7 separate regions of the Homo sapiens genome follow, and regions 2, 3, 4, 5, 6 and 7 are each linked to region 1. The links are contacts of gene promoters, found by promoter capture Hi-C in blood cells and fetal thymus (Javierre and others, 2016). All regions are on one chromosome and are shown on one strand. The core of a region is centred on a gene start or on the middle of the fragment in contact, and the rest is flanking DNA. Distances in the headings are between cores, read along the strand shown. Region 1 holds the start of TNNT1 (troponin T1, slow skeletal type). Region 2 has its middle 10 kb from the start of LILRB4. Region 3 overlaps ZNF784 (zinc finger protein 784). Region 4 overlaps ZNF524 (zinc finger protein 524). Region 5 has its middle 9.8 kb from the start of ZNF579. Region 6 holds the start of SBK2 (SH3 domain binding kinase family member 2). Region 7 holds the start of NAT14 (N-acetyltransferase 14 (putative)).

Evidence for each region. The method cuts DNA at HindIII sites, captures the fragments that hold promoters and counts their contacts. A CHiCAGO score of 5 or more calls a contact.
Region 2: a contact is called between a fragment that was not itself captured here and the fragment with the promoter of TNNT1 in region 1, in 1 of 17 cell types (M2 macrophages). The highest score is 5.3, in M2 macrophages.
Region 3: a contact is called between a fragment that was not itself captured here and the fragment with the promoter of TNNT1 in region 1, in 10 of 17 cell types (activated CD4 T cells, M0 macrophages, M2 macrophages and 7 more). The highest score is 8.5, in activated CD4 T cells.
Region 4: a fragment that was not itself captured here is called in contact with the fragment with the promoter of TNNT1 in region 1 in 1 of 17 cell types (erythroblasts); the score reaches 5.1 in erythroblasts.
Region 5: a contact is called between a fragment that was not itself captured here and the fragment with the promoter of TNNT1 in region 1, in 1 of 17 cell types (total CD8 T cells). The highest score is 5.4, in total CD8 T cells.
Region 6: the fragment with the promoter of SBK2 here is called in contact with the fragment with the promoter of TNNT1 in region 1 in 8 of 17 cell types (activated CD4 T cells, non-activated CD4 T cells, naive CD4 T cells and 5 more); the score reaches 9.5 in activated CD4 T cells.
Region 7: the fragment with the promoter of NAT14 here is called in contact with the fragment with the promoter of TNNT1 in region 1 in 17 of 17 cell types (naive CD4 T cells, activated CD4 T cells, M2 macrophages and 14 more); the score reaches 17.1 in naive CD4 T cells.

The regions. Positions count from the first base shown.
Region 1 is chr19:55,147,539-55,151,087 of GRCh38, forward strand. It overlaps TNNT1 (troponin T1, slow skeletal type), which reads right to left and starts at 1,668. Exons shown (of 14, transcript NM_003283.6): 1 at 1,623-1,668. The HindIII fragment of the contact is 19,232 bases long and covers 1-3,549 here.
Region 2 is chr19:54,671,663-54,675,211 of GRCh38, forward strand. No RefSeq gene overlaps it. Among named protein-coding and RNA genes, the nearest start is that of LILRB4, 10 kb to the left of the region's middle. The HindIII fragment of the contact is 1,834 bases long and covers 1,121-2,954 here.
Region 3 is chr19:55,617,994-55,621,542 of GRCh38, forward strand. ZNF784 (zinc finger protein 784) reads right to left here. Exons shown (of 2, transcript NM_203374.2): 2 at 2,748-3,549. Among named protein-coding and RNA genes, the nearest start is that of ZNF784, 4.8 kb to the right of the region's middle. The HindIII fragment of the contact is 1,799 bases long and covers 839-2,637 here.
Region 4 is chr19:55,601,194-55,604,742 of GRCh38, forward strand. ZNF524 (zinc finger protein 524) reads left to right here. Exons shown (of 2, transcript NM_153219.4): 2 at 882-1,945. The coding sequence starts at 920. The coding sequence ends at 1,714. Among named protein-coding and RNA genes, the nearest start is that of ZNF865, 2.7 kb to the right of the region's middle. RefSeq lists enhancers at 1,422-1,972, 3,076-3,549. The HindIII fragment of the contact is 3,453 bases long and covers 176-3,549 here.
Region 5 is chr19:55,569,283-55,572,831 of GRCh38, forward strand. No RefSeq gene overlaps it. Among named protein-coding and RNA genes, the nearest start is that of ZNF579, 9.8 kb to the right of the region's middle. The HindIII fragment of the contact is 6,950 bases long and covers 1-3,549 here.
Region 6 is chr19:55,535,119-55,538,667 of GRCh38, forward strand. It overlaps SBK2 (SH3 domain binding kinase family member 2), which reads right to left and starts at 2,015. Exons shown (of 4, transcript NM_001370096.2): 1 at 1,936-2,015; 2 at 924-1,178. The coding sequence starts at 1,176. RefSeq lists a silencer at 2,624-2,918. The HindIII fragment of the contact is 39,425 bases long and covers 1-3,549 here.
Region 7 is chr19:55,483,298-55,486,846 of GRCh38, forward strand. NAT14 (N-acetyltransferase 14 (putative)) reads left to right here and starts at 1,891. Exons shown (of 3, transcript NM_020378.4): 1 at 1,891-1,961; 2 at 2,364-2,483; 3 at 3,111-3,549. The coding sequence starts at 2,412. It overlaps ZNF628 (zinc finger protein 628), which reads left to right. Exons shown (of 3, transcript NM_033113.3): 3 at 1-1,190. The coding sequence ends at 1,076. RefSeq lists a silencer at 1,681-2,100 and an enhancer at 2,201-2,530. The HindIII fragment of the contact is 21,455 bases long and covers 1-3,549 here.

The DNA of each region.
Region 1 (3,549 bases), core at 418-2,917:
GATCTGAGGGAGGAGGGGCTGGGGGCCGGATTCCTGGGTCTGAGGGAGGAGGGGCTGGGGGGTGTGTGGGAGGGTGGGTGTGGACTCCTGAGACTGAGATGGGTTGTCCTGGACACCTGGGTCTGAGGGAGGAGGGGCTGGGGTCTGGACTCCTGGATCTGAGGGAGGAGGGGCCAGGGGCCTGGACGCCTGGGTCTGAGGGAGGAGGGGCCGCGGGCCTGGACGCCTGGGTCTGAGGGAGGAGGGTCTGGGGGCCTGGCCTCCTGGGTCTGAGGGAGGAGGAGCTGGGGCCTGGACTCCTGGATCTAAGGGAGGAGAGGCTGGGAGTCTAGACTCCTGAGTCTGAGGGAGGAGCGGGCTGGGGGCCTGTACTCCTGCGTCTGAGGGAGGAGGGCTCAGGTCTGGACTCTTGGGTCTGAGGGAGGGGGCCGGCTGTCCTAAAGCATGCATGAGGACAGACCTTGGTAGGTGTGGTCCTGGCACAGCCAGGAGGCTGCAGACCCTGCCCCCTCAGCACAGCTGTCCTCTTTTGTCTTATGACAAGTCCATGGGAACCTGATCCAGTTGGGATTAGGAAGAGGCATTTGAGAAGGGACAGTGGCCTGAAGACAATAGCTGCCCCACCCCCAGGAGCTATTTTGGGGGGATGTCATAGATGGTGAAACCGAGGACATTTCCTAAGAAGGGATTTGAGGAAGGGGGGCTTCTGGGAGAATTAGTCACCCGCATCCCCTCTCCCACTCGCCCCACCCCACTGGCTGGTTTCCTCCCCACCTGTCTCCCCTTTCACCTTCCCATACATCACGTAGGGGGCAGGGGCATAAAGGGCACCTTCTGTCCGTAGACCTCACCCTGACCCCTACATTCTTAGACCTCAAAGTCTTTGAGACACCCTAGGCCACAGGGTGCCTAGCCCCAAATCCCAATACCCACAGATTCTGAGACCCCGATTTATGATGCCCGTGTTTCTGAGGCCAGCAAGTCCTCACAGCTCTGGATTCTGAAATCCCAGTTCTTGATAGTCCAGATATGGGCCGGGACATCCTAAGACCACCCCCAGGTCTTGAGACCTCCTAAAATCTGAAACCTCAAGAATATGAGACCCCCAAAATCTTGATACCCAAACTCGGAGGCCCAGTTCATGATACCCCAGATAATGGCACTCTAAGTTTTCATGCTTTCTATCATAATGTCTCAGATTCCGAGCCCTCCACTACCAAAACCCCAATTTCTTCTGAGACCCCCCCAATTCCTGATACCCTCAGAGTCTGAGGCCCCAAATCCTGACACCCAGATTGTTTGACCTCCAAGTCCAGATATCCCTGACTGCTGAGATTTCCCCCAGATTCCCAGAACCCCAAGATCCTAGGAGGTTTTATTCTGGGACATCCAAGTCCTGGCAGCCCCGGGTTAGGATTTGTGTAACCCACAAATCCTAGTATTTTCCCCTCTATCCTGAGTCCCCCTAAAGTCTGAGCCTCTCAAGTTCCCAGACCTCCAGTTGTATGCCCCACCTACCTCTGCACCATTTCTCCACACCCGACATCTTCCCCACCTGCCTCCTGCCCCCTCCCCCAAGGACATGGTTTTTGAAGACCACAGGGCTCCGCAGAGCCCCTTACCTAGGCTGTGTCTGAGATGCTGTGAATCTTGAGGCTGAGCCTTGCTGAGGGCACTGAAGCTCCGGGGAGTTTATAGCTGGAGGCTCGGGCCCGCCCCGAGGGGAGAGGGAGGGGGAGAGAATTCCTTTGCTCAAACACAAGCCTGGGAGTTCAGAGACAGCCCTGCTGCCCCTGGCTCCACACTCAGAGTCCAGAAGCCTCCGTGGGCCCCTCCCCAACCCCATGCCAACCCCATCTGCATGGCCCAGGAGCCCCGCCCCTGCTCCCACCCCACACCCCAGGCTCCCGTGGTGCTCCAACTACCTCCCTTATAGCTCCCTGTGCTTTGACGTCCCCATGCCCGGCACACAGTAGGTCCTTGGAGGACCTACTAATGACACATGGGCTATAAGGAATGTTTCCTGTTTTCTTCTCTCTGTTCCCTCTTTCTATCTAGGTCTCTTTCTGGACCCCCATTTCTGTTGTCTCTGTGGCTCTCCATCTGTGTGTCTCTGTGTGTCTGTCTCTACTTCTTAGTCTCCTCCTCTGTCTCTGTCCATCTTTTTGTCTCCTCCTCCCACCCCCACCCCTTTGTCTGCCGCCAGGATTCCATCCTGGTGACAACAGGCACTAAAGCCGGGAAGCAGGTGTGGGGAGGGGGAGGGGGAGGGTGGGGTGTCAATTAGGGTGAAACCTACCCTCCCTCCCCACCTCCATCTAACGCTGATCTTTTTTGGTATCCCCCTCCCGCTTCCCAGCCAAGCCATGACCTTGAGTTCTAGGTTCAAGCCAGCCCTGGAGAGCAGGCTTCCTCACCCTCCCCGCCTCTCCGTACCTCTGTCTCTGGTGGTCTCGGTCTTTGTGTTTCTGTGCATTTCTCGGGGCCCCTTGCTGGGTCTGTCTTGGGCTCTCTCTGCATCTGTCGCTTTCTGAGCCCCTCAGTGTGTTTCTCGGCATGTGTCTCCGGGTGGTTTTGTCTCTGCATTTCTGTGGGTGTCTCTGCATGTCTGCCCCTCTCAGCGTTTGTGTCTGTGGGGGCTCACAGTCTCTCTGTGCATTTCTGTCCACCTATGACCCCATTTCTGTCTCTTTTTGGCTCTGGGTCTCTGTGTCTGTGTTCACGTCTCTATCTTTCTAGTTCTCTCCATGTCTCTCTTAGTGCCCGCAGTTCCCCCTCTGTGGCTCTCCATTTCCATCTCTTATAGGGTCTCCATGTCTCTGCACCTTGCTGTGAGTATATCTCTGTCTCTCTTTTCTCCTTTCTTTGCACTTCCTTCTATGCATCTTGTGGTATTTTCTCCCTCTCTCTTTGGGTCTTTGCCTGGCTCCTACTCTCTCTACTCCCAACTCAGTCTCTCTGTTGTCGGTCATGTCTCTCTGCCTGTCTGTTTCTCTGTGTCTCTCTCTCTTTGACCTTTAGTCTTGGCATCTCTGTGCACTCCACATGGGCCAGAGGAGCTGTGACAATAGAGATCAGAAGACTGATGGAATGAACTGTTTGTGGCAATAAGATACCAAATTATAAACAAGACCTAAGGCCATGCCAGGCAAGGGTTAAGCCACGCATCCCTACACTTATATAATCGACTATGTTCCAACTGCCACAAGGCTTTTCCTTTTTCTAGCAGCTAAACAAGCACCGGCCTCAAGATAAGCAATATTACAACCATTGCAGCCATCCATTGCCAGATGCTGACTAGCTGAACCCCCTGTTCCACAAGGCATAACTACAGCATTAGTTGAACAAGAGACTGATTTCAGTAACTTTCTCCTGATAAGATGCCGCAGACCACGGACTGGTTCTGGCTGTTGACAGAGGCTGTGCACTGAGTGTCTTCATATCCCTGCTTCGTGTTTCGATACGAATGCATTCAATGGAATGCACTTAAATGTTAAGCCTCCACCACCAAGTGAAGGTGGGATGCATGTAAAATGTGTTTGCGGCCAG
Region 2 (3,549 bases), core at 788-3,287, 480 kb before region 1:
TCTGGTTTAGCAGACTTTAGCACCTGAGACCAAGAGCTCCAGCAGCTCACTAGATTCTGACCATACCTGGAGGCAACCTGGTGAAAGAAGAGGCTTGGAAGGAACCAGCCCTCTGAGTCCCAGCTCCTCGCACACTCCAGGTGTGCCTAGGGAGCCCTCCCATTTGACTCCACAGGGTCCTGTCATGGCCCATGGAGAGAGGTTGACCCTCCTGTGTTGCTCTGATGTTGGCTGCAAAATATTCTCTCTGTCCAAGAAAAAGATACATCACCTTCCCCAGAGTTCTGGCCAGAAGTTCTCCCAAGATGACTTCCCCTTAGGCCCTGTGAGCATCTCCCATGGGGGCCAGTACAGATGTTCAGTGGACACAACCTCTCCTCTAGGTGGTCAGCCCCCAGTGACCCCCCTGGACATCCTGATCGCAGGTGAGAAGCCCAGCGGGTTCAGTTAGGGACCCAGGCTCTGTACAGGCCCTGCCAGGGGAGCCTAGGTGGTGATGGTTGGGATGAGGGGTGGGGGTCTCAAGGGAGGGAGAGGCAGAGAGAGAGAGAGGATGGATTGGGCGGGGACGGGGAAACTCAGAGAAAACAGAGACAGAGATACTGAGGGTCCCAGAGAGAGGCCTGGGGAAGTCTCAGCTCAGAACAAGGTGGGGCGGCTCCTCACCCATCCTTCTTCTCTCCAGGACAGATCCGTGAGACAGCCTCCCTCTTGGTGCAACCAGGCCCCACTGTGGTCTCAGGAGAGAACATGGCCCTGCTGTGTCAGATGCAAAGCTGGGTGGACAGACACTTTCCTTCTATCTGAGGAGGATGCAGCTGACAAGACCCCACCCTCGTATCTAATATCAAAGTACCCTACTCTGTGGTAGAGGTTGAATTCTCCATGAGTCCTGCGACCTCAGCCCATGCGGGGACCTACAGGTGCTATGCCTCATAGAGTGTTTACCCCAAGCTGTTGTTCCCCCAGTGACCTCCTGGTAATACAGGAGTTACTAAGAAATTGTTTTAGGCAGATAGTAAGGGTAAAGGTTCTTGGTGGAAATTTTCCAGTAATAAGGAACAATCCCTGAACCATCTCTTTTCTAACAGAAATGACAGCTTAAATGGCCCGGCCAGCAAGCTTTAATGTGCAAATGCCAACCATTAAAAACTGGGTTCACTCAATATGGTGATTCCTACTGTCTTCTCTTTGTTACCACCTGTGCCAAGTGTGATGGCCACCTCCAGACAACACCATGTATTCAAAACATCATGGTGACCCAAATGAATGAAAAAGCCCTTTTTAATATGCATTTTTAAAGGCCTACAGAAAACCAGGGCCAAACCTCTCAATTACTCTAAACTGTCTATAATGGAACAAAAGCCAAATAAAAATCTTGTAGCCTTTATAAAAAGGCTAAAAGAGGCACTAAAAAAGTATATCTTTTTATTCTCTAATCCAGTTAAGTAACAGCTCATCCTGAGGGACAAATTTATTACACAGGCAGCTCCCAATATTAAAAAAAAAAAAAAAAAAACTACAAAAGAAAGCTACAGGACCAAATAGCACCTTAAAAAACCTCCTGAAGGTGGCCACTTTGGTCTTTTATAATATGGACCAGGAGGAGTCCCAAAAGAAAGAAAAAAAGCTCAGGAGAAGGACAAAGTCTCTAGCAGCAGCTTTGAAGGCTCGCAAAGTCCCAGATCACCAAGATGCATCCTCTAGTTGCTATTAGTGTAGCAGGCCAGAATGTCCAGTCAGCAAAATGAAGCAACCTCCACTCTGTCCAGCCTGTGGCAAAAACCACTGAAAACAGAACTGCCCCCAGACATGGAGGTCACTGAGTTCAAAACCAGTCTCACAGATGGTCCAGCAAAACTGATGGATCCTGGTGCTTGAACCTAGGCTCCAGTAGCTCAAACTGCCATTATAGCACAAGAGCCCTGGATAATTCTGGAAATTAAAGGAAGGAAAGTAGACCTCCTTCTAAACACTAAAGCTAGTCTCTCTCTCTTTTCTATTCTCTAATCCAGGCCTCCCTTCTTCCTTCATCACAACCGTAAGGGGCATCTTAGGAAAAAGTCTAATCCAATATTTTCTCAATCTTAGTTAAAACATGCTTTCGGTCAGGCACGGTGGCTCACGCCTGTAGTCCCAGCACTTTGGGAGACTGACGTGGGTGGATCACCTGAGGTTGGGAGTTCAAGACCAGTCTGGCCAACATGGAGAAACCTCATCTCTACTAAAAATACAAAAAATTAGCCAGGTGTGGTGGCACATGCCTGTAATCCAAGCTACTTGGGAGGCTGAGGCAGGAGAATTGCATGAACCCAAGAGGCAGAGGTTGCAGTGAGCCGAGATCGCTCTATTGCACTCCAGCCTGGGCAACAAGAGTGAAACTCCATCTAAAACAAACAAACAAACAAACAAAAAATCAAAAAAACATGCTTTCAAGCCATTGAAGCCATTGTCATGATAGCTCTACTAGTCAGAAAAGCCTGCAAGTTAACCCTAGAAAATAAAAATAATTTAACTGTTTACAGCCCACATAATGTAGCAGAATCACTGTCCTCTAGGGGGAGCTCTTAGCTGGTAAACAGCCCGTAAAGCAAAAAGTAAATAAGGCAGAATAAGCAGTAGTCACTCTCTCCAGGCACAAACACTCAATTAGCTGAGTTAATAGCTCTTTAAAAAGCACTTAAATTAAGCAAGGAAAAGGCAGCTAACATTTACACTAACTCCAAGTATGCTTTCTTGGTTCTCCATGCTCATGCTGCCATTTAAAACAAAAAAACATGTTCTTACTGCTAATAAATCTCCTATAAAAAATCACCAAAAAATTAGCAAGTTATTCTTATTTTTTCTTCCACAAAAAGTAGCAGGGATGCATTGTAAGAAACATCAAAGAATAAACAATAAGGTAGCCAAAGGAAATAAGTTAGCCAATCGGGCAGCTAAGTCAAAGGCATAAAAGCTTCAAGGCCTTAATGCACTTCAAGCCCCTTCTAATCTAAAAAGGCTCCATAAGAGAAATCACACCTCAGTATTCCCCTGAAAAAATAGAATAAGCCACTTCTCAAGGGCATACTTTTCAGCCCTCAGGATGGCTACAGTCAGGATGGCAAATTTATTGGTCAGCCTCCAGCCAACAGAAAGTTCTTGAAGTCCTAAGCTTTTCACTCAGGAAAAAATAAAACTTATCAATGGGCTCAAACATTGTTTTCAGACGGGAAACCTCTAGAATGGTTAACCACGTAACCTCTCTAGCTCACTTCCAACAAAAATTGACACAATAGCAGAAGCCCAGCCCTAGGAAATAAAACCACCTTTATTTAACTCAGGAAATTTAGTATTAGTAAGAACTCTCATCTCTGTCTCCTTCCCTAAGCCAAGCTAAAAAGGGCCCTACACTGTTCGTCTTTCAACCTCCTCGGCAGTAAAAGTTACAGGAATCAACTTCTACATGCATCACACTCAAGTCAAAGCCAAAAAGCTAAAAAACCAACCCCTAACAGTAAAAAAAAAAAAAGCTAAATATTAATGTAAAAAAATAGAAGATCTTAAGCT
Region 3 (3,549 bases), core at 488-2,987, 470 kb after region 1:
TTGAGACCAGCCTGGCCAAAGTGGTGAAACCCCATCTCTACTAAGAATACAAAACTTAGCTGGACATGGTGGTGGGCATCTGTAATCCCAGCTACTCAGGAGGCTGAGGCAGGAGAATCACTTGAACTCAGGAGGCAGAGATTGCAGTGAGCTGAGATCGCACCACTGCATCCAGCCTGGGTGACAGAGTGAGACTCCATCTCAACAAATAAATAATTTGGACTTCAGTCCCAGAGTACTTCAGTACAGAAACTTGAAGATGAGGCCAGGTGCAGTGGCTCATGCCTGTAATCCCAGTACTTTGGGAGCCCAAGGCGAGCAGATCACCTGAGGTCAGGAGTTCGAGACCAGTCTGGCCAACATGGTGAACCATCCTTTCTACTAAAAGTACAAAAATTAGCTGGGCGTGATGGCAGGTGCCTGTAATCCCAGCTACTCGGGAGGCTGAGGCAGGAGAATCACTTGAACCCAGGAGGTGGAGGTTGCAGTGAGCTGAGATTGCGCCACTGCACTCCGGCCTAGGCGACAAGAGCGAGATTCCATCTCAAAAAAAAAAAAAAAAAAAAAAAAGGAAAAAAAGAAACTTGAAGATGAAACTAGGTAAGAGCGCTGCTTGGGTGAGTCCTGTGTGACCCATGGGAGAGCAGCTACCCTGTGTGGCTCCATGTTCTAATGCTGAAGACCCAGCATGAGACAGACGTTGTGCCAGTGCCCCCAGGGTTCAGGGTTCAGCAGTAACATGGAAATGGAGCCTCACAGTGTAAGGGACTTGGAAGTATCACTAGGGCTTGAGGGAGCACAGAGGAGTCACCTGTCAGAGTGGAAGGGGGGCTAGAAAAGCTTCTTGGGGAGAAGGTGATCCCTGAACGATGACATAAACCAACTGGAGTTTTCCAGGTAAAGAAGTGGCAAAGAGGCCGGGCACGGTGGCTCATGCCTGTAATCCTAGCACTTTGGGAGGCCGAGGCAGGTGGATCACGAGGTCAGGAGCTCCAGACCATCCTGGCTAACACGGTGAAACCCTGTCTCTACTAAAAATACAAAAAATCAGCCGGGTGTGGTGGTGGGAGCAGGTGGCAGGCGCCTGTAGTCCCAGCTACACGGGAGGCTGAGGCAGGAGAATGGCATGAACCCAGAAGGCGGAGCTTGCAGTGAGCCGAGATCATGCCACTGCACTCCATCCTGGGCGACAGAGCAAGGCTCTGTCTCAAAAAAATAAATAAATAAGAAAAAAAAAAAAAAAAAGAAGTGGCAAAGATTTCCAGGCGGAGAGTTTAGTGTGTTGAACTAAACCCTGCTATTCTGGAGCATTTAAGACAGATTAGTATGGCTGGAGGTTGGGTTCCTGGGGGCTAAACCCTGAAGGGTCTTGAATTCCAAACTGTGGGGCTTGGGTGATTTTATAGGCTAGAGGCTGGAAACTGGCAGCTGCAAGGCCGAATATGACCACTAACACATTTTTGTTTAGTCTGTGCATTTTTTAAAAAGTTTGACTTGACTGCCAACATTGGGAAATCAAAAGATTTTACATAATGTGAACTAATGGAACTTCTGAAAGAAACTGGAAGATGTGGCAACCCAATCTGTGTTCCGGAGCTGAGCAGCCATTACCCTCTTCTGAAGAGGCACTCTCCAATTTGTTGAATACCAATTCTGAGACCTGGTGGCAATCGCCATTATTTCATGTTGCTGATATTTTCCCCTTGAACCTGGCCGTCTTGCTCGTGTATTTACATTTTCACCCAGCTCCTGTAGGCATTCACATTTCCAAATCGTCTCAAAGCCACAAGGAGCTGTGTCTTGGTGACAAGGATCTGCATGGATGCCATATGGAGAATGAAGAGGGCAGGTGGCCGGGTGCAGTGGCTCACGCCTGTAATCCCAACACTTTGGGAGGCCGAGGCGAGTAGATCACCTGAGGTAAGGAATTTGAGACCAGCCTGGCCAACATGATGAAACCCCATCTCTACTAAAAATACAAAAATGAACTGAGCGTGATGGCGCCCACCTGTAATCCTAGCTACTCAGGAGGCTGAGGCAGAAGTGCTTGAATCCAGGAGGCAGAGGTTGCAGTGAGCAGAGATTGTGCCATTGGACTCCAGCCTGGGCAACAAGAGCAAAACTCCATCTCAAAAAAAAAAAAAAAAAAAAAAAAAAAAAAAAAAAAAAAAAAAAATGCAGGCACTGGACTGCTGTGCAGTTGTCTGTGTGTGAGACCACTGTTGGTCTACAAGTGTAGTGATGCCGAAAACACGTTCCAGTTCCAAAGATATTAACTGGCTCAACTGAGGGAAACTGATAAGGGACTGGACATAAGAATGAGGATGAAGAAGGTTTAAACCTGCCCAGGTATCCAGCTTGGGTGGTGGTGCCAATGACATCAGAAGCATGGAGGTTTCTTTGAGGAAAATGGAATGAGTTCTGTTCACATTGTGAGTTGCCTGTGAGTTATCTCATGGGGCCCACTGGGTGAACAGAAAGGTGTGCAAATCAGAGGCTCTCACTCAACAAGCATGCAAAGCATGTTGAGTGTGCTTTTGCCAAACTTCCCTGACCCCCCTCTCCTACAGCTGAACCACATAACACGTAACCACAGTGGGGCCTACTCACCCCCCATTCTGATGATGGGGAAACAGAAGCTTGGAGGAAGAGATGATGCAACTGACTGCTGGTGGCAAAACCATGGTGAGGCCCCTCCTCCCCCAACTCCCCAAAGCGGACAATCCGAATACAAGACCGACAGAGAAGCCCTTCAGAAGGTCCTTTAATAGGAACAGAACTGAAGGTGTCACACCTCCAGCTCCCAAGTCCTCCTCTCGCCCCCACCACAGTGACTCTTTCACTCCACACCCAGGCCAGCCCACCATGCTGCCATCAGCCAGCCCGCCCTTGGGATTGGCGGGGACTAGGCAGTAAGCTGTTTGCTTCGAACTGGGAGTGGAGGAAATTAGAGAAACCTGAGGCTACCTTGAGGCTTGTGGGGGACCCTGGGCTCTGAGTCTAAAGCTTTAGGAGGGGGATGCTAGGTAGCTGCTTGCTTTATGTGTTCTCAGTTGCCTCCGAAGAAGAGTGGATGGGTTAAGGACGGACCACAATGGGGGTGGGGGTTGCCGCTGTTGGAGTCAAGATCCTATGGTCAGGCTTACATCCTTGAGGCTCAAGTGCTCTCAGCGGTGACTTGGGGACCCTCTGGCTTTGAGGTGATGGGATCCCAGAGTCTCTTCACAGATAACCTGGTGAGTGTCTTCTGCCAGAGGGTGGATAGGCATCCCAGGTCCAGTGCAATGCAGTGAGGTAGGCAGGAGACTCCATCCTGGTCCACCCGTGGAGGACCAGAGCAGAAGACTATGGTGGACCCCAATTCCCCCCTTCCATTCGATCCTGGCTCCTCCTCTGAAGTGCCCAGGCTCTGTCGTGACAGGCTGGGTCTTGCACAAGGACAAGCCAACCAAGAGACAGTCGGGGAAGTGACATCCAGCCCGTGGGCCTTGCCTTTGGCCGCACACCCGCAGAGCTGCAAGAGCTGCACCTGTCCTCTCCTAGGCCTGG
Region 4 (3,549 bases), core at 652-3,151, 450 kb after region 1:
ACAAGACCTGTTTCCAGTTTTGGCCCTGCCATTTACTGGCAGAGGAACTTAGGCAACTGACTTGGCTTTCCTGTGCCTCAGTTTCCCCATCTGCAAAATGGGACAGATATGCCCTATTCAGAGGGTTGATGTGAGGCTTAGCTGCTCCTGATAACAATGGCTAATGTGTCCTGAAAGCTTCTGTGTATGAACACTTTGTGGGTATTATGCTCATGGCATGTCTGGGCAAGTACGTAGAACTATGTGTCCCATTTTGCAAAAGTCTTGATTAAGGCTTAGAGAAGCGAACACCTTGCCCAAGGCCACGCAGAGAGTAAAGATTTGAACGAATGATGTCTTGACTCCAGGGCCCAGGCTCTTAACATCGCAGATATGTTTCCTCATCCAGGAATCAGGGTCAAATATCACCTGGGACCAGTCCCTTTTTTCCACTCTGGAACCCCTTCCCCACTTCTGCCAGTCAGCAGGGAGGGATGAGAGCATTCGTGAGGCCTCTATGGCTCTGGAGTTTGATGGGCTCTCCGTTTCAAGGATCACAATACTGGTCTGCACTCTCAGTTGGACTCTATCCTCTCTGGAAGGTTTTTTTTTGTGGGGAGGTGGGGAGGGGTGTTGCTCATGTTGATCTTGAACTTCTAGATCCAGAAGGAGAGTTAGGGAGGCATAGGGATGTCTGGTGGAGCTCAGGGAAGTGCCTGTTTATCAGCTGATACAAGATCATCTCACTGTTTTACCCACCAGCATAGCTAAAATTGTGTATCTGGATGAATGTCAAACACACCTTTGTCAAGAGACTTGGAGAGAGGGATGGGCGAGGTGTTGGGGGACACAGGGGTGCTCTAGACCCTGTGAGCACTGACTCTGCCCCTCTCTCCTCTTAGCTGGCTCCAGTGCCCAGACCCAAGCCCCCCACTGCTCAATGGACACCCCCAGCCCAGACCCGTTGCCTTCGCCTTTGCCCGGGGAGGAAGAGAAACCTCTGGCCTTATCTCCTCCTGTTCCCCGGGGCCGCCGAGGCCGTCGTCCTGGGGGAGCCACCTCCTCAAATCGGACACTCAAGGCCTCCCTCCCTCGCAAGCGGGGCCGCCCCCCCAAGTCAGGGCAGGAGCCCCCACTGGTGCAGGTGCAGGGGGTGACAGCCCCAGTAGGCAGCAGTGGCGGGAGCGACCTCCTCCTGATCGATGATCAGGGTGTGCCCTATACGGTCTCTGAAGGTTCAGCGGCTGGGCCTGAGGGCTCTGGCCCCAGGAAGGCCCCACACTTCTGCCCGGTGTGCCTGCGGGCCTTCCCCTACCTCTCCGACCTGGAGCGCCACAGCATCTCGCACTCAGAGCTGAAGCCGCACCAGTGCAAGGTTTGCGGCAAGACCTTCAAGCGCTCCAGCCACCTGCGGCGGCACTGCAACATCCATGCCGGCCTGCGGCCCTTCCGCTGCCCGCTGTGCCCCCGCCGCTTCCGCGAGGCGGGCGAGCTGGCGCACCACCACCGCGTGCACTCGGGGGAGCGCCCGTACCAGTGCCCCATCTGCCGGCTGCGCTTTACAGAGGCCAACACGCTCCGGCGCCATGCGAAGCGCAAGCACCCGGAGGCCATGGGGGTACCCCTGTGTGCACCAGATCCAGGGTCTGAACCGCCGTGGGACGAGGAGGGCATCCCGGCCACAGCAGGGGCCGAGGAGGAGGAGGAGACAGAGGGGAAAGGGGAGCCGGCCTGACCCACACCCCCGGCCATCGCTCCCTGGGCCAGGTTTAGAGCAGGGAGTTTGGCTGGTGCTGGGCCTGAGCCAGGGGGCCGGGACACCCTTGTTTCCGGTGGTCTTCCCGTTGTGGGAGCAGGTGGAGGGTGGAGACCTAAACTTTGGGGTCCAGCTGCCTTCAGCCCCCCTCCCCCAGACTAACAGACCCTTGGAGGCAGGGGCTGTGGAAATAAATCTCTGCCTGCTGGCTGCCTGTGTGTGTTCCGTGCCGGGATGCCATCCTCTCCTGCCTTCAAATGTTCTTCCTCGGCTACACCGTCCTGTCGGGAGTGCGGGGAATTGGAGAGGACCCCACTTCCTGTGCCTCATGAGCGTGGTGCTCGCCAAAGAATGGTTTTGGGGGGAACCTTGGCCCCTTCCCCATCTCCATCAGACCCCAAAGTCCATGGGTCCCTCGGAGTCCGCGGGGAATTGGTTCCACGAACCTCGCAGATACCAAGATCTGGGCATACACAAGTCCAGCAGTGGGCCCTGCGGAACCCGCGGATGTAGGAAAATCCGCCCTTCGTATACTGTATGTTCCACCGGTGTTTGGGTGAAAAAACGTCCGCCTCTCAATGGACCTGCAGTTCAAACCCCTGTTGTTCAAGGGTCAGCTGTATTCCCAGTACACATCCAATCTAACTAAAAACATTGAACCTTCCATGCAGACCTGACTGTAGGTCCGACCGCCTCTCTCCTAGCCAATTCCCAGAAATTCTGCAGCCACTTTGCCCCACCTCCTTGTCCTGAGGACCTACTGTTTGGAAGGAAAAATTAAGACAAAGGTATGAGCAGGACGGTCTGGGTAAGGTTTAGAGATAAGGGGTGTGGATTGGGGCGGGGCTAAGGAGCGAGGGGTGGGGCTGAGATTGCGGGGCAGTTAGGCTGGGACCTGGGGCGGGGGCTTAGAAGAGGGTTAGAGTTGGGTGGGGCTTAAAGAGGTTTAGGGGTTGGTCCGCAGAAAGTGAGAGCGGTTTAAAGAGGATGGATAGAGTTGATCTAATAGAGAGTAGGGGCTTGGAGCTGGGGAAGAACAGGAGGAACTGCGTGAGAGTGGGGCAAGGAGGACGGATAATTTTTTTTTTGAGACAGGGTCTCGCTCTGTCATCCAGGCTGGAGTGCAGTGGCCCTATCACCGCTCACTGCAGCCTCGACCTGCCAGGCTCAAGCGACCCTCCTGCTTCAGCCTCCGGAGTAGCTGAGACTACAGACGGGCGCCAGCATATTTAGCTAATTTTTTTTTTTTGAGACGGAGTCTTGCTGTCGTCCAGGCTGGAGTGCAGTGGGGCAATCTGGCTCACTGCAACCTCTGCCTCCCGGGTTCAAGCAGTTCTCTCCCTCAGCCTCCCGAGTAGCTGGAATTACAGGCGCCCGCCACCACGCCTGGCTAATTTTTGTAATTTTAGTAGAGACGGGGTTTCACCATCTTGGCCAGGCTGGTCTTGACCTCCTGACCTCGTGATCCACCCGCCTCGGCCTCCCAAAGTGCTGGGATTACAGGCGTGAGCCACCGCGTCCAGCCTAATTTTTGTATTTTTTTTTTTTGTAGAGACGGGGTTTTGCCATATTGCCCAGGCTGGTCTTGAACTCCTGTGCTCAAGCAATCCGCCTGCCTTGGCCTCCCAAAGTGCTGGGATTACAGGCGTGAGCCACCACGCCAGGCCAAGAGAACGGATTTTAAGGTGAGGGGCGGAGCTTATAATAATTCAGCTCTGAGGTGGGCGTGGTTCAGGGCCGAGGGCCGGGGGCCGGGGCTTAAAGGAGAAACTCTGAGGGAACAGGGTATTGGAGGTGGGACTTAGAAGGTGCTG
Region 5 (3,549 bases), core at 414-2,913, 420 kb after region 1:
ATCGTGCCACTGTACTCCAGCCTGGGTGACAGAGTGAGACTCCGTCTCCAAAAAAAAAAAAAAAAAAAAAAAACTTAATGAATGAGGTAAGGATGAAGCATTGTGTAAAGTTTAAAAGCCCAGGCTTTGCAGTCACAATGCCTGGGATCAAATCTGGCATGGTACTTACTAGCTGTGTGGCCTTGGCTAATTCATTTCACATTTCTGTACTTGAGTTTTCTCAGGAAAGCAGGGCCTACTGGGAACCTCATAATCGCTAGTGGGCTGTAAATGGTACAGCCACTTTGGGAAACAGTCTGGCACTTTCTTAAAAAGTGAATCACACACTTCCCACACAGCCTAGCAATTCTGCTCCTAGAAATCTGCCCCAAAGAAATGAAAACATATGCCCACACAAAGACCTGTTGCTGGGCGCAGTGGCTCAGGCCTATAATCCCAGCACTTTGGGAGGCTGAGGCAGGTGGATCACCAGAGGTCAGGAGTTTGAGACTAGCGTGGCCAACATGGTGAAACCCCGTCTCCACTAAAAATGCAAAAATTAGCTGGGTGTGGTGGTGTGCCCCTGTAATCCCTGCTACTCGGGAGGCTGAGGTGGGAGAGTTGCTTGAACCTCAGAGGCAGAGGCTGCAGTGAGCCGAGACTGCACACCACTGCACTCCAGCCTGGGCAACAGAGCAAGATCCCGTCAAAAAAAAAAAAAAAGAAAAAAAACAAAGGCCGGGCATGGTGGCTCATGCCTGTAATCCCAGCACTTTTTGGAGGACGAGGCAGGCAGATCATGAGGTCAAGAGATTGAGACCATCCTGGCTGACAGGGTGAAACCCTGTCTCTACTAAAAATACAAAAATTAGCTGGGTGTGGTGGCTGGTGCCTGCAGTCCCAGCTACTCAGGAGGCTGAGGCAGGAGAATGGCATGAACCCGGGAGGCGGAGCTTGCAGTGAGCAGAGATCATGCCACTGCACTCCAGCCTGGGCAACAGAGCGAGACTCCGTCTCTAAACAAAAAAAAAAGACTTGTACATGCATGTTCACAGCAGCATTACTTAAACAGCCAAAGAGTAGAAACAATACAAACACCCATCAACGGATGAGAGGATAAACAATGTGTGGTGTATCCATACAGTGGAATATTATTCAGCTGTAAAAAAGGAATGAAGAGGGTGGGTGCAATGGCTCATGCCTTTGATCCCAGCAGTTTGGGAGATCAAGGTGGGAGGATTGCTTGAGCCTAGGAGTTGAAGATCAGCTCGGGCAACATAGTGAGACCCCCATCTCTACAAGAAATAAAAATATTATCCAGGTGTCATGATGCACCCTGTGGTCCCAGCTGCTCAGGAAACTGGGGAGAGATGGATCACTTGAGGTTGAGGCTGCAGTGAGCCATGATAGCACCACTGGACTCTAGCCTGGGCAACAAAGTGAGGCCTTCTCTCAATAACAGCAACAACAACAACTAAAAAGCAATTAAGTACTGAACTGACACAATTTACAATGTGAATAGACCTTGAAGACATTATGCTAAGAGGAGGAAGGCAGTCACCAAAGCTACATATGGCATATTCCATTTATATGAAATGTCTAGAATAGGTTCATCCATAGAGACAAAATAGATTCGTGGTTGCCCAGAGCTGAGGGTGGGAATGGAAAATGACTATTAACAGGCACAGAATGTCTTTTTGAGGTGATCAAAATATTCTTTTTAAAATTTTTAATTAATTCATCAATTTATTTATTATTATTATTATTTTTTAGAGACAGGATCTTGTTCTGTGGCCTTGGCTGGAGTTCAGTGGTGTGATCATAGCTCACTGCAGCCTTCAACTCATATAGCTCACTGCAGCCTTCAACTCCTGGGCTCAAGACACCCTCCCACCTCCGTCTCCCAAGTAGCTGGGATTACAGGCACTTGCCACCACAGCCAGCTAATTTTTGTTCAATGTTTTGTAGCGACAGGGTCTTGCTTTGTTGTCCAGGCTGGTCTCAAACTCTTGGCTCCAAGTGCTCCTGCCGCCTCAGCTTCCCAAAGTGCTGGGATTACAGACCTGAGCCACCACACCCAGCCTGGAAATATTCTAAAATTGGATTGTGGTGATAGAGGCACAACTCTGTACATTTATTAAAAATTATCAAATTACGCCTGTAATCCCAGCACTTTGGGAGGCCGAGGTGGGTAGATCATGAGGTCAGGTGTTCAAGACCAGCCTGGCCAACATGGTGAAACCCCGTTCATACTAAAAATACAAAAAAAAATTAGTGAGGCGTAGTGGCAGGCACCTGTAATCCCAGCTACTTGGGTGGCTAAGGCAGAGAATTGCTTGAACCCAGGAGGCGGAGGTTGCAGTGAACCGAGATCAAGCCACTGCACTTGAGCCTGGGCAACAGAGTGAGACTCTGTCTAAAAAAAAAAAAAAAATTATCGAATTGTACGACCAAATGGATGAAGTCTATATGTAAATGGTACCTCAGTAAAGCTGTTTATGAAAAGGCAAAACGAAAACAGAGCCAATAATAGTATCTATTTTATGTGGCTGTTGTGAGGATTAAATGGGCTAATCTACGTAGTACCCTTGAAGCAGACATAGGGTGAATACTCAAGAAGTGGGTTCCTATTATTAACAAATGTGGTTGCAGGCTGGGCACGGTGGCTCACGCCTGTAATCCCAGCACTTTGGGAGGCCAAGGCGGGTGGATCACCTGAGGTCGGGAGTTCGAGACCAGCCTGACCAATATGGAGAAACCTTGTCTCTACTAAAAATACAAAATTAGCCGGGCATGGTGGTGCATGCCTGTAACCCCAGCTACTCGGGAGGCTGAGGCTGGAGAAGCACTTGAACCCAGGAGGCGGAGGTTGCGGTGAGCCGAGATCGTGCCATTGCACTCCAGCCTGGGCAACAAGAGTGAACTCCGTCTCAAAAAACAAACAAACAAGCAAAAACAAACAAATGTGGTTGCGATCGTACGTGTAAAGTGTTCAGCAAGTGAAAGACAAATGGCAGGTCGTGTTCCCTACATAACCACAACTCCTTCAATAATCACCGTCATTTGGTGACTTTATCATTCTCTGCATCTGTCCCACGCATCTGGCCTCAGTTTTCCACCTGCGCAATGAAAAAGCTGGGCTCTATCTCCAAGGCCGTCTTCTCTTTGTCAATTCTGTATTTGGTTCTGAAAATGTTTCTCTTCGAGGCGGCAGATCTGCAATGAGAAGGGTGGGCAAACCCATAGAGCCGAGGTGGGGCCCGCGGGTCCTGGAGACCAACATGTGTGTAGGAAGGGGCCTGAAAGTGGGCTGTGTGGTGGGAGCTGACGGGGAGGGTAAGATTGGCCTGGGTAAGGGTTCGAGGACCAGGTCTGCCAATTTGTAACCGTGATATCTTGGACAAGGAACTTCCTCTCTGCATCCAGAAAATGGGGAGGGTGTTTCCTGCCTCCCCGTGGAGCAGTGAGGATTCATTGAGATCATGTATATACCAGCCAGGGAGAATAATAGCTAAAAGTACCAACAGCAACAACCAACAGCAACAACTTTTTCTCTCCATTTTTTTTTTT
Region 6 (3,549 bases), core at 765-3,264, 390 kb after region 1:
GCATTCATGCTAGGAGATTTTTGAAGGCAGGGACTGGCTCTGGTTCAATTCTGGGTCCACTGCCCGCCCAACCCCCCCAGCACAGGGCTGGCCTCAGAAGGCGTGCCCTGAACTGACTGACCTCAGGTTGCCTCCCTATTTTCCGTTTCATGGAAGGACACGGTGCTTGGCAGAAAGGCCCAGGGTAGTGGGGAGCTGTCCTGCGCACCCACTGTGTGCCGGCCTTGCTAAGTGCTTAGCAGACAGCATCACTCTGCATCATCCCACGGTGACCACTACAGCCGCCACAGGAGGCTCCTGAGCTGGGAGCTCTGTCTTACCCAGCATTATACAACCCCAGCAACTAGAGCAGTCCACATTCACTCAGAGGATCCACCATTCTTCCAAGTAGAAATCATCACCCACATTTTCCAAAGGAGGAAGCTGAGACTCAGAGAGGGCAAGGGAGTTCCTCAAAACACAGTTTTTGGCAGGGCACCGTGGCTCATGCCTGTAATCCCAGCAATTGGGAGGCTGAGGCAGGCGGATCACTGGAGGCCAGGAGTACGAGACCACCCTGGCCAACAGAGTGAAACCTCATCTCTACTAAGAAAGAAAAATACACACACACACAAATGTAGCTGGGTGTGGTAGTGCATGCCTATAGTCCTAGCTACATGGGAGGCTGAGGCAGGAGGAACACTTGAACCTGGGAGGTGGAAGTTGCAGTGAGATTGTGCCACTGCACTCCAGCCTGGGCGGCAGAGCCAGACTGTCTCAAAAACAACCAACCAACCAAAAGAACAAAAAACAAAAAACACACAGCTTTGGAGGGCAGAGGTAAGACTTGATTCAGGCCTGCCAGCCTCCCCAGCCTGGGCTACCCCAGGCCCGTGCCCCGCCCCCAGCTGAACCCTGCCACCTCTGGCCCCACAGCCTCGTACCTTTCTGACGATGGGTGACCAGAAGGACGCGGCCATAGCAACCCTGGCCCAGGGGACGCACTTCCTCGTAGAGCTCGTCCACCTCGGCTCGGACCAGGGTCTGAGCACTCAGCGTCATCATGTCCTCCAGCGCGCGGGCAGCCTCCTGGCCCTGCTGGAGCTCCTCTAATGTCAGGCCGCCCAGACCCTCCTCCTCGCTGTCCTCCGAAGCCCCTGCCTCCGCCGGCCCTTCCTCAGACTGTTTGCCGGGCATCTCTGCGAGAACAGAGAGGGGTGCCCAGGCTCAGGTCCCAGGCCCAAGGGAGGAGGGGACTGGGGGTCTGGACTCCTGGGTCTGAGGGAGGAGGGGCTGGGGGCTCATCGCGCTTCTCATTGTGACTCAGTCTCCCTCTTGGTGAGAGGTGGGGAGACAAGTCTGGTGTGAGTTCAAGCCCCAGGTCACAGATGTCCCTGCCCGCGTGCCGCCGCCGCCACCCGCCCACCCTGAGGTTGAAAGATGAACCAGATAACTGAGACTCCCCCATCTTGTTTCCAAAGCAAACAGACTTGGGCCCTGGGGGTGGATGAGTAGACTCTGTCTCCTGAGAACAAACAGGTGCTCTTGGGCTCAGGGCTGGGAGGGCGGGCTGTGCAGAGGGCCTGGGACGCCTGGGTCCTGCATGGGACCGAGCACTTGGGATCAGTCCCCAAGCTCCTGACAGGCCTGGGGTCCCACTTTCACAGCCCACCCACCTCCCTCCGACCCAGCCCCCCAGCCCCTCCTCCGCCAGGCCCAGGGGTCCAGGCCCCCAGCCCACCTCTCTCCCGGAACCTCATACAATTCACACAACTGGGGACCCCCTGATTCTGTTTCCCTCACCCTCCACCGCTCTACAGCCTCCAGGTGCAGCCCAGGCTCCCCTGAGGGACCGAGGACTCGGGCCACCTGGTACAGTCACCCTCAGGTGCTGCCCACCTCAGGCCAGGGCACCTTGCCCACCTCCCAACCTGGGCTCAGACCTCCAGACCTCACCTCCTCCAAGGCCCTCCTGACCCTCCGGCCGCCGGCTGTGGTCAGTGCCCGGCACTTAGGGCTCATGCCAGCAGAGGCCTGCCTAGGAGCAAGACCCCGCCCCGACTTTGGGGGTCGTAAGGCCCCGCCCCTGGGCCCGCCCCTTCTGCCCCCACTGGGAGCAGAGCGACATCGTGTGATGACTCCTGGAACTGGCTGTGGTCAGGTGAATACCCTGACCCAAGAGTTGAGCCCTCCTCCTTCAGACCCAGGAGTCCAGGCCCCAGCCCCTCCTCCTCCCTCAGACTCAGGAGTCCAGGCCCCCAGCGCCTCCTCCCTCAGACCCAGGAATCCAGTCTCCCAGTGCCTCCTCCCTCAGACCCAGGAGTCCAGGCCCCAGCCCCTCCTCCCTCAGACCCAGGAGTCCAGGCCCCCAGCTCTTCTTCCCTCAGACCCAGGAATCCAGGCCCCCAGCTTTCCCTCCCTCAGACCCAGGAATCCAGTCCCCCAGTGCCTCCTCCCTCAGACCCAGGAGTCTAGACCCCAGCCCCTCCTCCCTCAGACCCAGGAGTCTAGGTCTCCAGCCCCTCCTCCCTCAGACCCAGGAATTCAGGTCTCCAGCCCCTCCTCCCTCAGACCTAGGAGTCCAGACCCCCAGCCCCTCCTCCCTCAGACCCAGGAGTCCAGGCCCCAGCCCCTCCTCCCTCAGACCCAGGAGTCCAGGCCCCAGTCCCTCCTCCCTCAGACCCAGGAGTCCAGGCCTCAGCCTCCCCCACCCATCTGAAGTTTTCCGGCAGAACTGAGGCCTCCCCACCCCCTCAAGGCCTCTCTTCCCAGTTGCTCCAGCACCTGCTTCCCGCCCCTCTGAGTCTGAGGTCATCCCACACTGCATCGTTCTGGAATCTCATTGTCTCATTCTTTCCCCAAACTAGACCCCAGCATCTGATCCCCTGGACACCCCTCTCCAAGCACTTGTGTCTGACCTGTCAATGGGGCATTGATGGGGCAGCTGGGTGGGGTCAAGGCAGGGGTGGGTTCCAGAAATGATTTCATTTTCTACACGGGACCCGGACTCCTGGGCCTGATGGAGGAGGGGGTTGAGGACCTGGACTCCTAGGTCTGAGGGAGGAGGGGGTTGAGGACCCGGACTCCTGGGCCTGAGGGTGGAGGGGGTTGAGGACCTGGACTCCTGGGCCTGAGGGAGGAGGGGGTTGAGGACCTGGACTCCTGGGTCTGAGGGAGGAGGGCCTGAGGGCTCCTGATTCCAAAGAGAGGAATAACAATAAAAATAGTTTGAAAGCGCATAACAGGAATACAGGCCAGTGAGTGCCTCCCTGCTGTAAGCACAGGGAGATTAAGCCCCACTAGGAAGTCCCCAAGCCTTGGGCCACAGTGGGACTTCAGACCCCTGTTTTTTTCTGGGACGGTTGCACCCACCCTTCAGGGTTTTTTATTTCTTTTTTTTTTTTTTTTTTTTGCTTTTTGAGACGGAATCTCGCTCTGTCACCCAGACTGGAGTGCAGTGACGTGATCTCGGCTCACTGCAACCTCCAACTCTCTGGTTCGAGTGATTCTCTTGCCTCAGCCTCCCGAGTAGCTGGAATTACGGGCATTTGCCACCACGCCTGGCTAATT
Region 7 (3,549 bases), core at 641-3,140, 340 kb after region 1:
TGGGGCCAGCAGCGCCCAACTCTCAGACGTTCCTCCTGGTGCAAACTGCCCAGGGCCTCCAGCTGATCCCCAGCAGCGTGCAGCCCCCTACACCTCCGCCCCCTCCCGCACCTCCCAAGCTCATCCTGCTGCCCTCCTCCAGTGCTGGGGCTGGGGGCGGCCGTGCAAGGCAGGGCCCGCGGGCAGTGGGGAAAGCGGGCCAGGGGGCGGGAGTGGTCTGGCTGCCAGGCCCTGGGGGTCTAGGGGTGCAGGGAGCGGCCAGCGCTGGGGCCAGCGGGACAGGGCAGAGCCTCATCGTTCTGCAGAATGTGGGGGGTGGGGAGGCAGGGCCACAGGAAATGAGTGGGGTGCAGCTCCAGCCCCTCCGACCAGCCCCAGAAGTAACCACGGTCCAGCTCCAGCCAGCGCAGGAGGTGACCACAGTCCAGCTCCAGCCAGCACAGGAAGTAACCACGGTCCAGCTCCAGCCAGCACAGGAGGTGACCACGGTCCAGCTCCAGCCCGTGGCCGGCCAGCTCTCCAATTCCAGTGGGGGAGCTGTGGCTACTGAGGCACCCAACCTGCTGGTTGTTCAGAGCGGGGCAGCTGAGGAGTTGCTCACTGGCCCGGGCCCCGGGGAGGCGGGGGATGGCGAGGCCAGCACTGGTGTGGTCCAGGATGTCCTCTTTGAGACACTCCAGACGGACGAGGGCTTGCAGAGCGTGCTGGTGCTGAGCGGGGCCGATGGCGAACAGACTCGACTCTGCGTACAGGAGGTAGAAACACTTCCTCCTGGGCTGACGGAGCCGCCTGCCACCGGCCCACCCGGACAGAAACTCCTCATCATCCGCAGCGCCCCAGCCACTGAGCTGCTGGACAGCAGCAACACTGGAGGAGGCACCGCCACGCTGCAGCTCCTGGCCCCACCGCCGTCAGGCCCAGCCTCGGGCCCCGCGGGGCTCCCCGGGGCTCCAGCCTCCCAGATGGTGCAAGTGGTCCCCGCAGGAGCTGGGCCTGGTGTTATGACCCCTCAGGGCCTGCCCTCCATCCAGATTGTCCAGACTCTACCCGCAGTCCAGCTGGTGCACACGTTTTGAGGAGAGGCAGTGATTCCCCTCCCGCCCCGCACAGAGACCCCGACTCACTGCCAGCCGGGGCGGGGCAGGGTGCCGCAGGCTGGGCTTGCTAATAAAGACCCGAGTCTCCCCGCCTGTGTTTTGTTTTCCTGGGGGGAGGGAAGGGGGCAAAGTCATGGTCCTAGCCCCCGCCTGGGAGCGTGGAGTCTTAAGTCTTGCGTCCTGGGTCGCAGATGGCTTGTTCTGCATCCTGGGGCCAGCCACTACGTAGGGCTCAGTTCCCCTGTCCTGAAACCAAAAAAGGCCGCAGGGGTCATTATAGTGGGGAGGTGGTGACATCAGACTCCAGGGAGTGCTACTTGTTCACTGTAGGTCGCCCCGCTGCCCCCCTCGTGTGAGAAGTAGGGGGATCCTTATGCGGAAGGGTTCTGCGACCCCGGGCGCCCCGTGGGTGGAGTGGGGTCCCTGGGGATGGGGGAGTCGGGCGCCAGGATGCTGAGCGTGGCCGGCTCCTCCCGCGAAGGCCCCGGCACGGATGAGAATCCACGCGCTGGCGTCGCCGCCCGGCGCTCAGGTTGCTCAGCAACGAGGGAACGTGGGGCGGGAGCTCGCGCTGGTCCCCAGCCCGCCGCCCGTCTCCTGCCGGCTTCCGCTCCCGTTCTTCCCCAGGTCCCCTTTCCCCGTTGCTCCTTCTCTAGGGATAGGAGAGGTCGCTTCCCGGCCCTCCGCAGGGTCACAGCTCGGTTCCTCCCAGCCCGCCCTCCGGGGAGCTTAGCAACGGTTGCTACGGCCCGGAGCGGGCGCCGCCCCGCCCCACCGCGCGCGGTCTGACGTCACTTCCGCCCGCGACCCCCTTCCAGACCCGCTCCCGAAACCTTGTCGAAGGACCAAAGGCGACCGGTGCAGGTGCTTGCTGGTCCTTGTTCTTGTGGCGCGGGACGGGGACGACTGTGGGGGAGGGGGCGCTGGGGACCGGGGTGGAGCGAGCGTGGTCCGTTCTCTGGCATGTGGGGAGGGTGTTCGTGGACCCCAGTGCCTGGGAGGGAGCCCCGTGCTGCAGTGTTGGCGTCCGCAGCGCGTTTGGGAGTGTAGATCGCTGAATAATACGGGGGAGGGGGGATCCCGGGAGACTTTAGCAAGGTCGCTGAGTATTGTGGGGGGCGCCTGTCCTGCCGAGATCCTCGCTTGGGGGCCCCGAGGGTTCTCAGTGTCCTGATCTGGGAAGTGCCGTTGCTGCTCCCTACCCCTCGGGGGAGCTTTGGGGACAGAGGTGCCCCCCTGACGCTGACCTACTTATGTTCTCACCAGGTGCACGACGCCAGCTCCCTTCTGGGGGGCCGGGGCCTGGGGGTTGCCATGGCCCCCAGCCACCTGTCAGTGCGGGAGATGAGGGAAGATGAGAAGCCCCTGGTGCTGGAGATGCTGAAGGTGAGAGGCAGGGGCCCCAGGGGGCCTGGGAGTGGCTGCAGTGGGGGAATTGCAAGTGGATTCAGCCACCCCCTCCCACCCACCTGAGCCAGCCTGGACCCCTGGAGCGGGATCTTTTCCTCCTGAGCCTCAGCCGCCCTGCTGCTGAAAACCACAGCAGGTGTGGCAGGTGGGGGCTCACCCCCCCAGCCCTACTGGGACCCCAGCACCAACGCCCTCCCTGGTCTCCCATCTCCAGTCGGCTGTGCACGCCAGCACAACAGCCAGCTCTGTGCCTCGGACCCCAACTCTTCAAAGCACAGCCCAGCACCCCAACCTAGCCCAGCAGCCTCCCTCCAGCCTCCACTCCAGCCTGAGGCAACCTCCCTGTCCTTACTTCCCTGGGGCCTCACTGCGGCATTGCTACTGAATTGAGTGCCCCCACAGCTCCTAATTCACTCATCCATCCATCATTCGCTCTCGTTCATTCATTCACTCCATACCCAGTGTGCCACACTGAACATCGGACTGTGCTGCCTTCCCTTCCCATTTGGGAGCTCTCACCCCGCCCCGGGCAGGGTCTACCTCCTCTCTTTGTCCAGGAGGCCCTAGCGTTTCGGATGGCTGAGCCACCCCTCCTGCCCACAGGCCGGCGTGAAGGACACGGAAAACCGCGTGGCCCTCCATGCCTTGACACGGCCGCCGGCCCTGCTCCTCCTGGCGGCGGCCAGCAGCGGCCTGCGCTTTGTCCTGGCTTCCTTCGCCCTGGCCCTCCTCCTGCCGGTGTTCCTGGCTGTGGCCGCCGTGAAGCTGGGCCTGCGGGCCCGATGGGGCTCGCTGCCTCCGCCGGGTGGCCTGGGGGGCCCCTGGGTGGCCGTGCGGGGCTCCGGTGACGTGTGTGGGGTCCTGGCTCTGGCCCCTGGCACAAATGCAGGGGACGGGGCCCGGGTCACCCGCCTGTCTGTCTCTCGCTGGCACCGCCGCCGGGGCGTGGGCAGGAGGCTGCTGGCCTTCGCGGAGGCCCGGGCTCGGGCCTGGGCTGGGGGCATGGGGGAGCCCCGGGCCCGGCTCGTGGTCCCCGTGGCTG